4 separate regions of the Homo sapiens genome follow, and regions 1, 2 and 3 are each linked to region 4. The links are contacts of gene promoters, found by promoter capture Hi-C in blood cells and fetal thymus (Javierre and others, 2016). All regions are on one chromosome and are shown on one strand. Each heading gives the region's core, a stretch centred on a gene start or on the middle of the fragment in contact. The rest is flanking DNA. Distances are from core to core; before and after follow the strand shown. Region 1 has its middle 93 kb from the start of EDA2R. Region 2 has its middle 75 kb from the start of EDA2R. Region 3 overlaps AMER1 (APC membrane recruitment protein 1). Region 4 holds the start of LAS1L (LAS1 like ribosome biogenesis factor).

Region 1 (2,875 bases), core at 47-2,546, 1.2 Mb before region 4:
GTACAAAATTGTTAGTATAGGAAGGATACTGTGGATATCAGAAGGTATGATGGTTACATAGTAATGTTAGTATTCCTTGTGTACACCTGTTAGTTTTGCAATCTGTTTTCTTAAGTATTTGTTTAAATTTTTGTGGGTACATAATAGGTGTTTGTATTTATGGGGCAATGTGATATTTTGATACAGGCATACAGTGTGAACTAAGCACATCATGGAGAATGGGGTTTCCATCCTCTCAAGCATTTATCTTTGCAATCTGTTTTGAATTATTATAGTTCTAACTCACTGTTATTTAGAGTGGAATTAGATGAGAGGATATTTATGAAATGAAAAAAGGCTGTTACATTGTAGTGAAGTAAACAGGCAAAGGGCTGTAGACTTTCATATTAAACCTAGGGCGTATAGAAATTTTTAACTTAGTGTTGTGTTTATAGGCATGTCTGTTTTTTTTTTTTTTACAAAAATAAATTTGGACGCTAAGAGCAAGCACTCTCCAATATGTACCAGCACAATTTTTTGGAGTGATGATGGATACTGCTCCTTTGTATATCATCAATTGACTTAATACCGGTGTGATTCAAGTGTAGATTAAAGCTTACAATGATACTGATGTGGTGTCTTATGTTACAGATGTTAAAATAACTGATAGCATTAGAAGACTCTTGACAAGAAAAAGAAAACATTACCGATGCCTTACTATAACACTATTTCTAATTTGTACAACACTTTGACAAAGCAGTTTCACTGAATCTCACTAAAACCTTATGGGCATTGTAATCTTCATTTTACAAACGAGAAAACTGAAGGTCAGAGAGGAGAGCATGGAACTAGTAGGGGATCACACAAACAAGAAGTTGAGCTGGGACCAGAATAAAATGCTTTTGACTCCCAGTTTAGTGGTCTTCTCATTACACTGCTTTACATCTGATATTGATAAGGATTTTCTAAAAGATAAAATTATTACTTTTTAAACAGCTGCTTGGCTTTTGATTTACCCATTAAGTTTACAAAATAGAAAACAATTATGCTACTGTCTTCCATATTATACTTAACCACATCTCTCTCAATTTTTAGAGAAGAGAGGCAAAACCATTAATAAATAAAATAAGTTATGATATATGATAATAATGAGCTTCAGACTCATTATTTGATCAGTGCTGTGACACACAAAGCTATATGTACATCTTTGACTCCACCTCTATCAATGCCTCATGATTATTCTTATAGAAGACTCTCACTTTAATAAGAAAAATCAAATAACATTACATATTTATTATTACTACATTAAAACCCAGAACTGTCTTATTAACTTTGCAGTGATTCTTATTATTAAAAATATGAAGATACAAGTCTGCATGTAAAAGGTTAAATTTTTCATGACCTGCAAATCTTTCTTATTAGAATATTTTCATTTCTAGCTATCCAGAGGAAATATATTATTACTTGATTGAAATTGACTGAAGCCTATCAGCAAACTCTAAATGGCAATTCAACAAATATTTCCTGAGTTCTTACTATAAATAAGGCATTGAGCTAGATTGTGAGGGATGTAATCTTTTATAAGAAATAAATCATGCTCTTGAGATGTTGACTTTTTTAAACACCTATTATTATCAAGTATACTTTACCAGGGTCCATGAGTTACTTATCTCAGTGCTCTTCTCCAGTCTCCTTTTAACTGAGTTTCTTGAATTTTAGTATATTCTCACTAAATGGCATTTTTTCTAGAAACCAATTCAACAAGGAATTGGAAAACTCATTCTTTTTATTCAGCTACCTAAAAATAGAGGATAATACACGCCTCCATAAACAACTTAAAAATAGTCAACATAGAAGTACAATATAATATGCCAGAATACAGGAAGACTTCCTAAAGGAGAAAAAGATTTTAAAGTAGGAAATAGACAGTCCTTATATGTGATCATATTCAGAAATATTTAAAAAAGAGACATACAATAAAAATTAAAAGTTGGGAATGTGAGAATTATCAAAGCTTGAATTCAAATCCAGACTTCCATCACTTACTATTTATGTGCCCTTGATAGATGCCCTTATTCCCTGTTTTAGTTTGCTCATGGTAACATTAAGGGTTGGGAGTCACGCTAATAGGAGTGAGCGTTAAAGCTAATAAAACAAAATCACTACCATTTATTAAGCATGTGAGAAACTCAGCCTGTAAGCCCTATAGTTACTGATTACCTATAATCCACAGAAGGGGGCAGTATAGCATAATAAATCAGATTGTGAGCTCCTGTTAGAGACTTGGCACTGAAGGATTACAAAGCCTTGAAATGGACCACTTGGGACATGACCAGTGAGCACCAGAAGGCAGCCATGAGGGACTGCTGAAGACTACATAACCCATTTTTTTTTTCTGGACTACTTAAACCTGGTTTAAGCCTGGCAGTTCTGTGTAATGTTAGAAAGCTGCAAGGAAAAAAAAAAAAAAAAAGACTGACTTTTGATTTCCCACCAATCTTGCCTGGGGAACTGAGACATTTACATACTACTTACCTGGTTTCAAACATTATTGTAAGTATTTTACATAAATAACTCATTTAATCTTCACATCAGCCTTACTATTGTTCTTCCATTTCACAAATGAGGAAACTGAGGCTTAGAGAGGTGAAGTCACTTGCCCAAAGTCACACAACTAGAAAGTGGTAATGCTGGAATTTGAACTCAGCAGAAAAACTAGATCTAGAGTCTGGCTTTTAGTCACAAAGCAAAACAACACAAATGTATGGGCTAAAAGAGTATGGCCTCTGGAATTAGACTGCCTGAGTTCCTATTGAAGCTCTGCTCTTTGCCAGCTGTGTGATGTTAGTCAAGTTACCTCATTTCTCTGTCCATCGGTTTTCTCACCTGTAAAATA
Region 2 (2,914 bases), core at 205-2,704, 1.2 Mb before region 4:
AGAATAAAATACCTGGGAATCCAACTTACAAGGGATGTGAAGGACCTCTTCAAGGAGAACTACAAACCACTGCTCAAGGAAATAAAAGAGGATACAAACAAATGGACGAACACTCCATGCTCATGGCTAGGAAGAATAAATATCGTGAAAATGGCCATACTGCCCAAGGTAATTTACAGATTCAATGCCATCCCCATCAAGCTACCAATGACTTTCTTCACAGAATTGGAAAAAACTACTTTAAAGTTCATATGGAACCAAAAAAGAGCCCGCATCACCAAGTCAATCCTAAGCCAAAAGAACAAAGCTGGAGGCATCACACTACCTGACTTCAAACTATACTACAAGGCTACAGTAACCAAAACAGCATGGTACTGGTACCAAAACAGAGATATAGATCAATGGAACAGAACAGAGTCCTCAGAAATAACGCCACATATCTACAACCAACTGATCTTTGACAAAGCTGACAAAAACAAGCAATGGGGAAAGGATTCCCTGTTTAATAAATGGTGCTGGGAAAACTGGCTAGCCATATGTAGAAAGCTGAAACTGGATCCCTTCCTTACACCTTATACAAAAATCAATTCAAGATGGATTAAAGACTTAAATGTTAGACCTAAAACCATAAAACCCTAGAAGAAAACCTAGGCATTACCATTCAGGACGTAGGCATGGGCAAGGACTTCATGTCTAAAACACCAAAAGCAATGGCAACAAAAGACAAAATTGATAAATGGGATCTAATTAAACTAAAGAGCTGCACAGCAAAAGAAACTACCATCAGAGTGAACAGGAAACCTACAGAATGGGAGAAAATTTTCGCAACCTACTCATCTGACAAAGGGCTAATATCCAGAATCTACAATGAACTCAAACAAATTTACAAGAAAAAAACAAACAACCCCATCAAAAAGTGGGCGAAGGACATGAACAGACACTTCTCAAAAGAAGACATTTATGCAGCCAAAAAACACATGAAAAAATGCTCATCATCACTGGCCATCAGAGAAATTCAAATCAAAACCACAATGAGATACCATCTCACACCAGTTAGAATGGTGATCATTAAAAAGTCAGGAAACAACAGGTGCTGGAGAGGATGTGGAGAAATAGGAACACTTTTACACTGTTGGTGGGACTGTAAACTAGTTCAACCATTGTGGAAGTCAGTGTGGCGATTCCTCAGGGATCTAGAACTGGAAATACCATTTGACCCAGCCATCCCATTACTGGGTATATACCCAAAGGACTACAAATCATGCTGCTATAAAGACACATGCACACATATGTTTATTGCAGCATTATTCACAATAGCAAAGACTTGGAACCAACCCAAATGTCCAACAATGATAGACTGGATTAAGAAAATGTGGCACATATACACCATGGAATACTATGCAGCCATAAAAAATGATGAGTTCATGTCCTTTGTAGGGACATGGATGAAATTGGAAATCATCATTCTCAGTAAACTATCGCAAGAAGAAAAAACCAAACACCGCATATTCTCACTCATAGGTGGGAATTGAACAATGAGATCACATGGACACAGGAAGGGGAATATCACACTCTGGGGACTGTTGTGGGGTGGGGAGAGGGCGGAGGGATAGCACTGGGAGATATACCTAATGCTAGATGATGAGTTAGTGGGTGCAGTGCACCAGCATGGCACATGTATACATATGTAACTAACCTGCACAATGTGCACATGTACCCTAAAACTTAAAGTATAATAAAAAAAAAAAGAAAGAGCTGAAGTAAAAGAGGACTGAAAAACATGTCAACTGGCTTTATTGACATGAAAATCATTGGGTACCTTGCAAAAACTGAAGTTGGATGGTGCCAGGAGGTAGAAGCCCTGTTAGAGTAGGTTGAGAAGCATATGAAAGTTGGAGAAGCCCTGCCAGCTGTCTATGAAAGGCAGAGAAAAATGAGGAGATTTTAAAGGAGGGGGTGGAATTCTGTTTTTATTTTCCCGTTAGCTCTTAAATTTTTCCTTTTTTTCTGAGTCTCCATTGTGACAGCCTAGTTTCAGGCCCTCATTACTATTGCCTGAACTATTACAATGGCATTCTCAGTGGATTCTGTCGACCTACTCCTCCAGATCTATTCTCCACACTGCTGCCAGAATGGTCTCTCCAAAACCTGGATCTAACAACGTAACTCCCTTACTTGAAATATTTGAATGGTTCTATAGGTACGAGATAATATCCCCGTCCTGACCATCTCTTGGCATCATACCTGCCCTTGACCTTTGCAATTCCCTGAAGATACCTGCTATTTTGTGTTTCTGTTCCTTTGACCCTACTGTTTCTCTTTTCTATAATGCCTTGTCCTCACCTGGTTTGCCTAGTAAATTCCTGTTTGTCCTTATTCATGCCATAACTTACTCTTTGAAATATTTTCTTACCCCCTCAGACAGTTTATTACTTTCCTCTACTATTTCTGTTTTGTACATACTTCCATGTTTACATGAACACACTATATTGTAATAATTTGTTGACATGTCTGTCACCCAAGTAGACTGTGAGTATGTGAAGGTACTGGCCATGCCTTTTGCCTCTTTATCCATCCCCAGTTCCACACACTGTCCCTAGCCCATAGTAAGTGCTCTAACAAGAAAAAAAATCATTTTTCAAGACAAAGCCACAAAAAGTCATAGAGAAAATGATTGAGAAATTTGAATATATCAATACTAAAATGAAATGAGGTAAACTGTATACCATATCCTTCTCAGACAAGACTTCTGAAGTGTCTTCACCTTTTCACATCCTTCCTCTCATTAGCCTCATGATTTCCCTCACTGCCCCAGTAGAGACAGGTGCTACCTCCAATGCTTTATAATTCCCACACCTAAAACTTCCCTAACCGCCTGTGAAAACAATGTCATCCTGAAGTTTTTCCTAGTTCT
Region 3 (3,033 bases), core at 474-2,973, 1.3 Mb after region 4:
ACAATACAGAGAGAGGTGAGTGGGCTGGCCTCTACCCTCACAGAGCATAGGAGCAAGGGCAAGGGAAAGCCCAAAGAGACTGTCTTCTAACTGGGGCGTCAAGGCTCTGGAAAGCAGCCTTCTTTGTGATTCAATTTGCCAAATCACTCTGTTCCCAGGAACTCCAGCCCCAAACCCAGCAGGACAAGTCAGCCTTTGATTCACAAGGATGTGTAGGTCCTAGAGTTTTTCACTTGGCTGTGAGGTTTTCCTTGAGGCCCAGCCTTACTGCCCAAGAAGTGTCTTTCTCCCTTTCACATTTATCTTGGAATATGTTTACAAGGTATAAAGAATGATACTCCACCAACCAGCTTTAGAAATAACAGGGGCTATTCTTTAAGGCAGCGGTTCCCAACCTTTTTGGAACCAGGGACCTGTTTCATGGAAGACAATTTTTCCATGGATGGAGAGGAGGAAGGTTTTGGGATAAAAGTGTTCCATCTCAGATCATCAGGCATTTGTTAGATTCTCATAAGGAGAGTGCACCCTAGATCCTTCGCATGCGCAGTTTGCAATAGGGTTCACGCTCCTATGAGAATCTAATGCCTCTGCTGATCTGACAGAAGGCAGAGCTCAGGTAATGTTCACCTTGCCCTCCTGCCTGCCGGTCACTTCCTGTTGTTTGGTCCAGTTTCTAACAGACTGTTACATATAGGACTCTCCCTGTTAGCCTAGGAGCTCCTTAGAAGCAAAGGCTGGGAGTTCTCCCTTCTTGTCCTGCCCTGAAGCACTGAATTCCAGAGGGGAATAGAATTTCACAAACAACTCCAGTACTGCCTCCCCAACTCCCCTATCCCCAACACCGTGACGATAACCTTAGCAGTAATTTTAAGGCTGAGGTAAAAATGTGCTGTGGAAAGTGGGGCATTCAGACATGATAGGGCCCCTATTCCCACCAGACCCAGGGGCAGAAAACTGGGTGATTGTGTGTTTAGGTGTGATTGTGTGTGTATTTGGAGGTGGGAGGGGGCACTGTCTATTGTGGGACTATCAGTTGCAGGGCTGAGTTGGAACAGTGTGATGTCAAAATATGTTACAGAAAAATCTCTAACCTGAGCAAATGGCAATTCAGATCTCTGCAGAGAGAGGTTCAGATGAACTTTCCTTTTCACCTGCTCTTTTCTTTTCTGGATAACCAGCTGTTATCTTGCTCCAATTTTAATATTCAGTTATGCAGAGTGTTCTTTATGGAAGCTTGGATCATCACACTGATGATTCAAGTGTCAAGCCAAGCAAGGCAGCAGGCACAAAATTAATGTTTGCAAGACAGAACCAGGGGCTCCAAGGCTAGAGTGTAGCTGCCAGCCTCTTTCCATGCTCAGTGCTGGTCCACAGTCTTCCACTTTAGGTGAATGTGTGAGTCTTATTATTATGGCAAGCAATCACAGGCCTGGTGTACTGTCCAGCTGTTCTTGGACCAAGGGTGCTTGCTTCTCTCTCCCTCTCTTACTCTTCCTTCCCTCCCCTTCCCCTTCCCCTCTCCCCTCTCCTCCCAGATTCCCCCATCTGCTGGTGCCACTCTACAGAGAGGGGACAAATTGGTGAGGGACTTCCCAGGGAGGGGTCATTGGGTTTTAGCAGGCTGGTCACTGAGCTAGCGGATGACCAGAGGTGCAGAGGTATATTGTGGTGGGTAGTGGCTAGGTCTTGTTTTTATTCCATCTCTGTTGGTATTTGGGCATTTGGAGGATTGAGAGCCTTGACCAGAAGGGTGTGGCTTGCACCAGGTTTATTTATTTAAAAAGCCATTGGGAACCTATCTCACACACCAGGAATATGAATCATGTAGGGCCTTCAAGGAGTTCCCTTCCTAGATAGGGAGCTAGATGGGGACAAAAATAATAAGAGGAGGAGAGTAGAGGAGAAACAGTCCACCTCATGGTTCTCAAGTGGAATTTGGGGTTCCATTGATGACCGCATTAAAGTATCTTCCCAGCAGGACAGCCAATAGAGGGTCTGGCTTAGACCCACCCTCATATCACCTCTCTGAGGGAGAGATATTGATAGGCCTCTTGAATGGCGAATATTGAAGCCCAGAGAGTACCTTTCTTGAGGCTCCCATTTCATTGTCTTAGCAGGTTCTAGATTGCAGACCTACTTTGTGGATGTGTGAGGCTCCTATTCTGAGATTCTGAAGCCTGAGCATGGTTCTGCAGGCAATTTAGGAAGCTTTGGATGGGAGGTGAAACTTCAGGTCCACTTTTCAGTCTCAGACAAAATGTCAGTGAGAGCCCAGACTAATATGAAACTGAAGCTTGAATCCAACAGAGCCCTGTGAGGACTCAATGGACTGTTTTGCCAGATGGTTTTCAAAAATTCTGTGATGTTGGAGCCAACATCCCTTTTGCCTTTCTTGTCTCTCCCTATCCTCATCCCCTTTGATAATTGATAATACCTCCCACAGCCAATAGCACCACTAGGCCTTTCACACAACTGCAGGTCCCCCTGCCCAGTGGTCCCCTGAGCTTAGGATGGTCTGAAGGGAGTGGACCCAGCAAGAAGGTAGGGGATGAAGGCTTCTTGTTGCTCAGTGTAGAGTTTTGCTTCCTTGGGGCCCAGAGAGAGCTGGCCCAGCAAGCCAAGCATATCGAGTGGATTAAGATTTGCCCCACATTTTCCATCATTTTCTTTCTTGTTCCACTCAAGCCTGACGTCCGGTGAAAGCAAACCCAGCCTGGATGCTTGCTCACTAGTATCTGTCTCTCTGTCTTTGTCTCTCCTATCTCCTCCAGACCCCACTGTGATGCTTCCTGACTGATAATGTTATAACAGTGCCTGGAAGCCTGAGGCTGCATTTCCAGCTGGACGTACCTCAGTTGTCCCCATCATCATGGAGACCCAAAAGGATGAAGCTGCTCAGGCCAAGGGAGCTGCAGCCTCTGGGAGTACCCGTGAACAAACAGCAGAAAAAGGAGCCAAGAACAAGGCAGCTGAGGCGACAGAAGGACCAACCTCAGAGCCATCCTCATCCGGCCCAGGTAGGCTGAAGAAAAC
Region 4 (3,059 bases), core at 455-2,954:
CCTGGCCAACTGGTTGGCATGGCTACTTGGGACAGAGTAACTGTCAGTCAAGAACCATAGGCAGGCCGGGCACGGTGGCTCATGCCTGTAATCCTAGCACTTTGGGAGGCCTGGGCTGGTGGATCACTTGAGGTCAGGAGTTCCAGACCAGCCTGGCCAACATGGTGAAACCCTGTCTCTACTAACAATACAAAAATTAGCCAAGCATAGTGGCAGGCGCCTGTAATCCCAGCTACTTGGAAGGCTGAGGCAAGAGAATCACTTGAACCCTGGAGGTAGAGGTTGCAGTGAGCCGAGAATTGTGCCACTGCACTCCAGCCTGGGCGACTGGGCCAGACGCCATGTCAAAAAAAAAAAGAAAAAGAAAAAAAGAAAAATAAAATAACTATAGGCAGACTATATCTTAGGAAAAGTTGGCTGGAGAAAGAAGCACATATAGAGGATGAATTGGGATTTGTTGCTGTGAAGCGTAAAAGTGCCACTCACAGCAATGCTGTTAAGATCGTTAGCAACAGTTCTCTCTCTCTCTCTCTCAAGTGTTACATTGGAAAATAACTTCTGCAAGAAGGATTGGGACATAGTCCTAAACATATTTCAGTCAACTCGTAAAATCGGAGGAACTTCATAATACCGCTTTTCTCCCAGAACTCCAAAATACCAAGGAATTTTGCAGAAAAACTAAGTATACCTTGGTGGATGTTGAAACCAACATAGCAGTGGAATGTTGGCAGAGTAAAATTCTACAATTTTCTGCTATGACAGAGAACCTAGAGACCAGTCTACAACTCTCACTGTACAGATGGGAAAACTGAGACTAGTCTAAGTCCACATAGTTAGTGGCAAAATTTAGAGTAAAACTCAGGTCTCTAGGCTGGTATTTATTTATTTATTTATGTATGTATTTATTTAATTTACTTTTGAGACAGAGTCTCGATCTGTCACCCAGGGTGGAGTGCACTGGTGCGATCTTGGCTTGTTGCAGCCTCCGCCTCCCGGATTCAAGCGATTCTTGTGCCTCAGCCTCCTGAGTAACTGGGATTACAGGCATGTGCAACCATGCTTAGCTAATTTTTGTATTTTTACTAGAGACCGGGTTTCACCATTTTGGCCAGGCTGGTCTGGAACTCCTGACCTCAAGTGATCCGCCCGCCTGGGCCTCCCAATGTGCTGGGATTACAGGCGTGAGCCACCACGCCTGGCCAGGCTGGTACTAATTTAAAAGGCAGGGCCCCTGGTTACCTGCCACAAAAGCAGATTTTTTCAACCCAACTGTAACTGTTTCGATATGAGATATTTCCTCTGTAGCCCTGCTTCAGTGTCCAGTGTTTTACTAGGTTAGGTCCTGATTCACGGCAATAAAAATATACTTAAAATCGCATTTTCAGTTCACTGGATGACTACAATCAAGCTGCCACCCGCCGAGGGGAGCAAAATAAAATTCCTCTTGCAGTGAAGACATACCGCTTCCGGTCTGGTACAGAAGCCGGTTAGCAACCAGGAAATTGGCGGAACCTAGAGGCTGAACTCTTGCCCCTGGAGGGTTTGCTTTGTGAAAAGAACACTTCCGGCCGGTGAGTTTTTAACCCCGCATGTCATTAGGTCGGCGCCCAATTCTGACGTTCCGATTGGCCATGCTGACGCTGGAAGGCGGGCTTGCGTATGGGGTCACGCTCTCCTATTGGCTGCTGGTGCGGTGGCGGTTCGGAGTGAGGGTAGCACGCTGAGCTGAAGGCTGTGCGGAGCGGCGCGGCACAGAGCCTGTTGTTGAGCTCAGTATGTCGTGGGAATCCGGGGCCGGGCCAGGTCTAGGTTCCCAGGGGATGGATCTCGTGTGGAGTGCGTGGTACGGAAAGTGCGTTAAAGGGAAAGGGTCGTTGCCACTCTCGGCCCACGGCATCGTGGTCGCCTGGCTCAGCAGGGCCGAGTGGGACCAGGTGACGGTTTATCTGTTCTGTGACGACCATAAGTTGCAGCGGTACGCGCTTAACCGCATCACGGTGTGGAGGAGCAGGTAAGGTGGCGGGTTCGGCCCTTTTGCCTGCGTGCTGGTGGCGCTGCACCTCTTCCTTTGTCGAGTTTCTATAAGGCCCTGTTCTCCAGTCTTCCCCTAAGTCGCCTAAAGTTGTCCCTCTCCCAAATGCCTGGGGGAACGCGGCAGCCATCTCTTGCGCTAATCCCGTTAGCGGAATGGAAAGTAAGGGGTTGTGCCTCAACAATTCTCTTGTTATATCTGTGAGGTTTACCCATTACCTCCAAAAAGTGACTTTCTCCCAACTTGGAGAGGATGCCGGAGGGACTAGTGAGGCCTGAGCCAGGGCTTAAGGAGTAGATTAGTACCCTAGGGTAGATTTCCGATTCCAATGGGGAGGAAGTCTTGCCTGCAAGACAGTGTTTGAGTGGGGCGCCTCAGTCCAGTTGGTAAGATTGAGTTGGGAGCCGACTTACAAGGGATAAGGGGCTCCTCTAGCTCAATGAGTTGATTTGGGGGTGAAAGAAAGGGGTGTGTCCACACAACTGTTGATGGACAGTCTACCAGTTAGGTGTCCTGTATACGGCCTAGTCAGCTCCTCATGCCCTGTATACTGTTGGATCCCACAGACATTACCGTGTCTCCTCCCACCTTCTTGTTTTGTGTCTGTTCATGCTCTCTTGAACCAGAATATGATGGGTGTAGCCTGCAACAACCTAGGTTCTGAGGTGGAGGGTGGACCAGTGTAAGGGCTCTTTATGATGGTGCTGGACTGTGACCCTTTAGGTCAGGCAACGAACTCCCTCTGGCAGTGGCTTCTACTGCTGACCTGATACGCTGTAAGCTCTTGGATGTAACTGGTGGCTTGGGCACTGATGAACTTAGACTGCTCTATGGCATGGCATTGGTCAGGTAAGACCTGCATGGGGTAGGGGTGGAGGTTGGCTTTGGGGACTGGAGGCAGGGGAGGCATGTGATAAGCAAAACTTGGCTTCAGGTGTTACCTGAAGCAAAACCCTGCGTGTACCTCACTGTGGATCAGCCTGTGATTATTGCTTGACTTATCAGCTTTTGGTACCCTCGTCAACGC

The links. The method cuts DNA at HindIII sites, captures the fragments that hold promoters and counts their contacts. A CHiCAGO score of 5 or more calls a contact.
Region 1: a fragment that was not itself captured here is called in contact with the fragment with the promoter of LAS1L in region 4 in 5 of 17 cell types (non-activated CD4 T cells, naive CD8 T cells, total CD4 T cells and 2 more); the score reaches 8.2 in non-activated CD4 T cells.
Region 2: a fragment that was not itself captured here is called in contact with the fragment with the promoter of LAS1L in region 4 in 1 of 17 cell types (neutrophils); the score reaches 5.7 in neutrophils.
Region 3: a contact is called between a fragment that was not itself captured here and the fragment with the promoter of LAS1L in region 4, in 2 of 17 cell types (naive CD8 T cells and total CD8 T cells). The highest score is 6.1, in naive CD8 T cells.

What each region holds. Positions count from the first base shown.
Region 1 is chrX:66,730,951-66,733,825 of GRCh38, reverse strand. No RefSeq gene overlaps it. Among named protein-coding and RNA genes, the nearest start is that of EDA2R, 93 kb to the right of the region's middle. The HindIII fragment of the contact is 1,399 bases long and covers 597-1,995 here.
Region 2 is chrX:66,712,381-66,715,294 of GRCh38, reverse strand. No RefSeq gene overlaps it. Among named protein-coding and RNA genes, the nearest start is that of EDA2R, 75 kb to the right of the region's middle. The HindIII fragment of the contact is 4,418 bases long and covers 1-2,914 here.
Region 3 is chrX:64,193,123-64,196,155 of GRCh38, reverse strand. AMER1 (APC membrane recruitment protein 1) reads left to right here. Exons shown (of 2, transcript NM_152424.4): 2 at 2,772-3,033. The coding sequence starts at 2,870. Among named protein-coding and RNA genes, the nearest start is that of AMER1, 11 kb to the left of the region's middle. The HindIII fragment of the contact is 975 bases long and covers 1,236-2,210 here.
Region 4 is chrX:65,533,432-65,536,490 of GRCh38, reverse strand. It overlaps LAS1L (LAS1 like ribosome biogenesis factor), which reads left to right and starts at 1,704. Exons shown (of 14, transcript NM_031206.7): 1 at 1,704-2,011; 2 at 2,756-2,881. The coding sequence starts at 1,776. RefSeq lists an enhancer at 1,430-1,609. The HindIII fragment of the contact is 19,270 bases long and covers 1-3,059 here.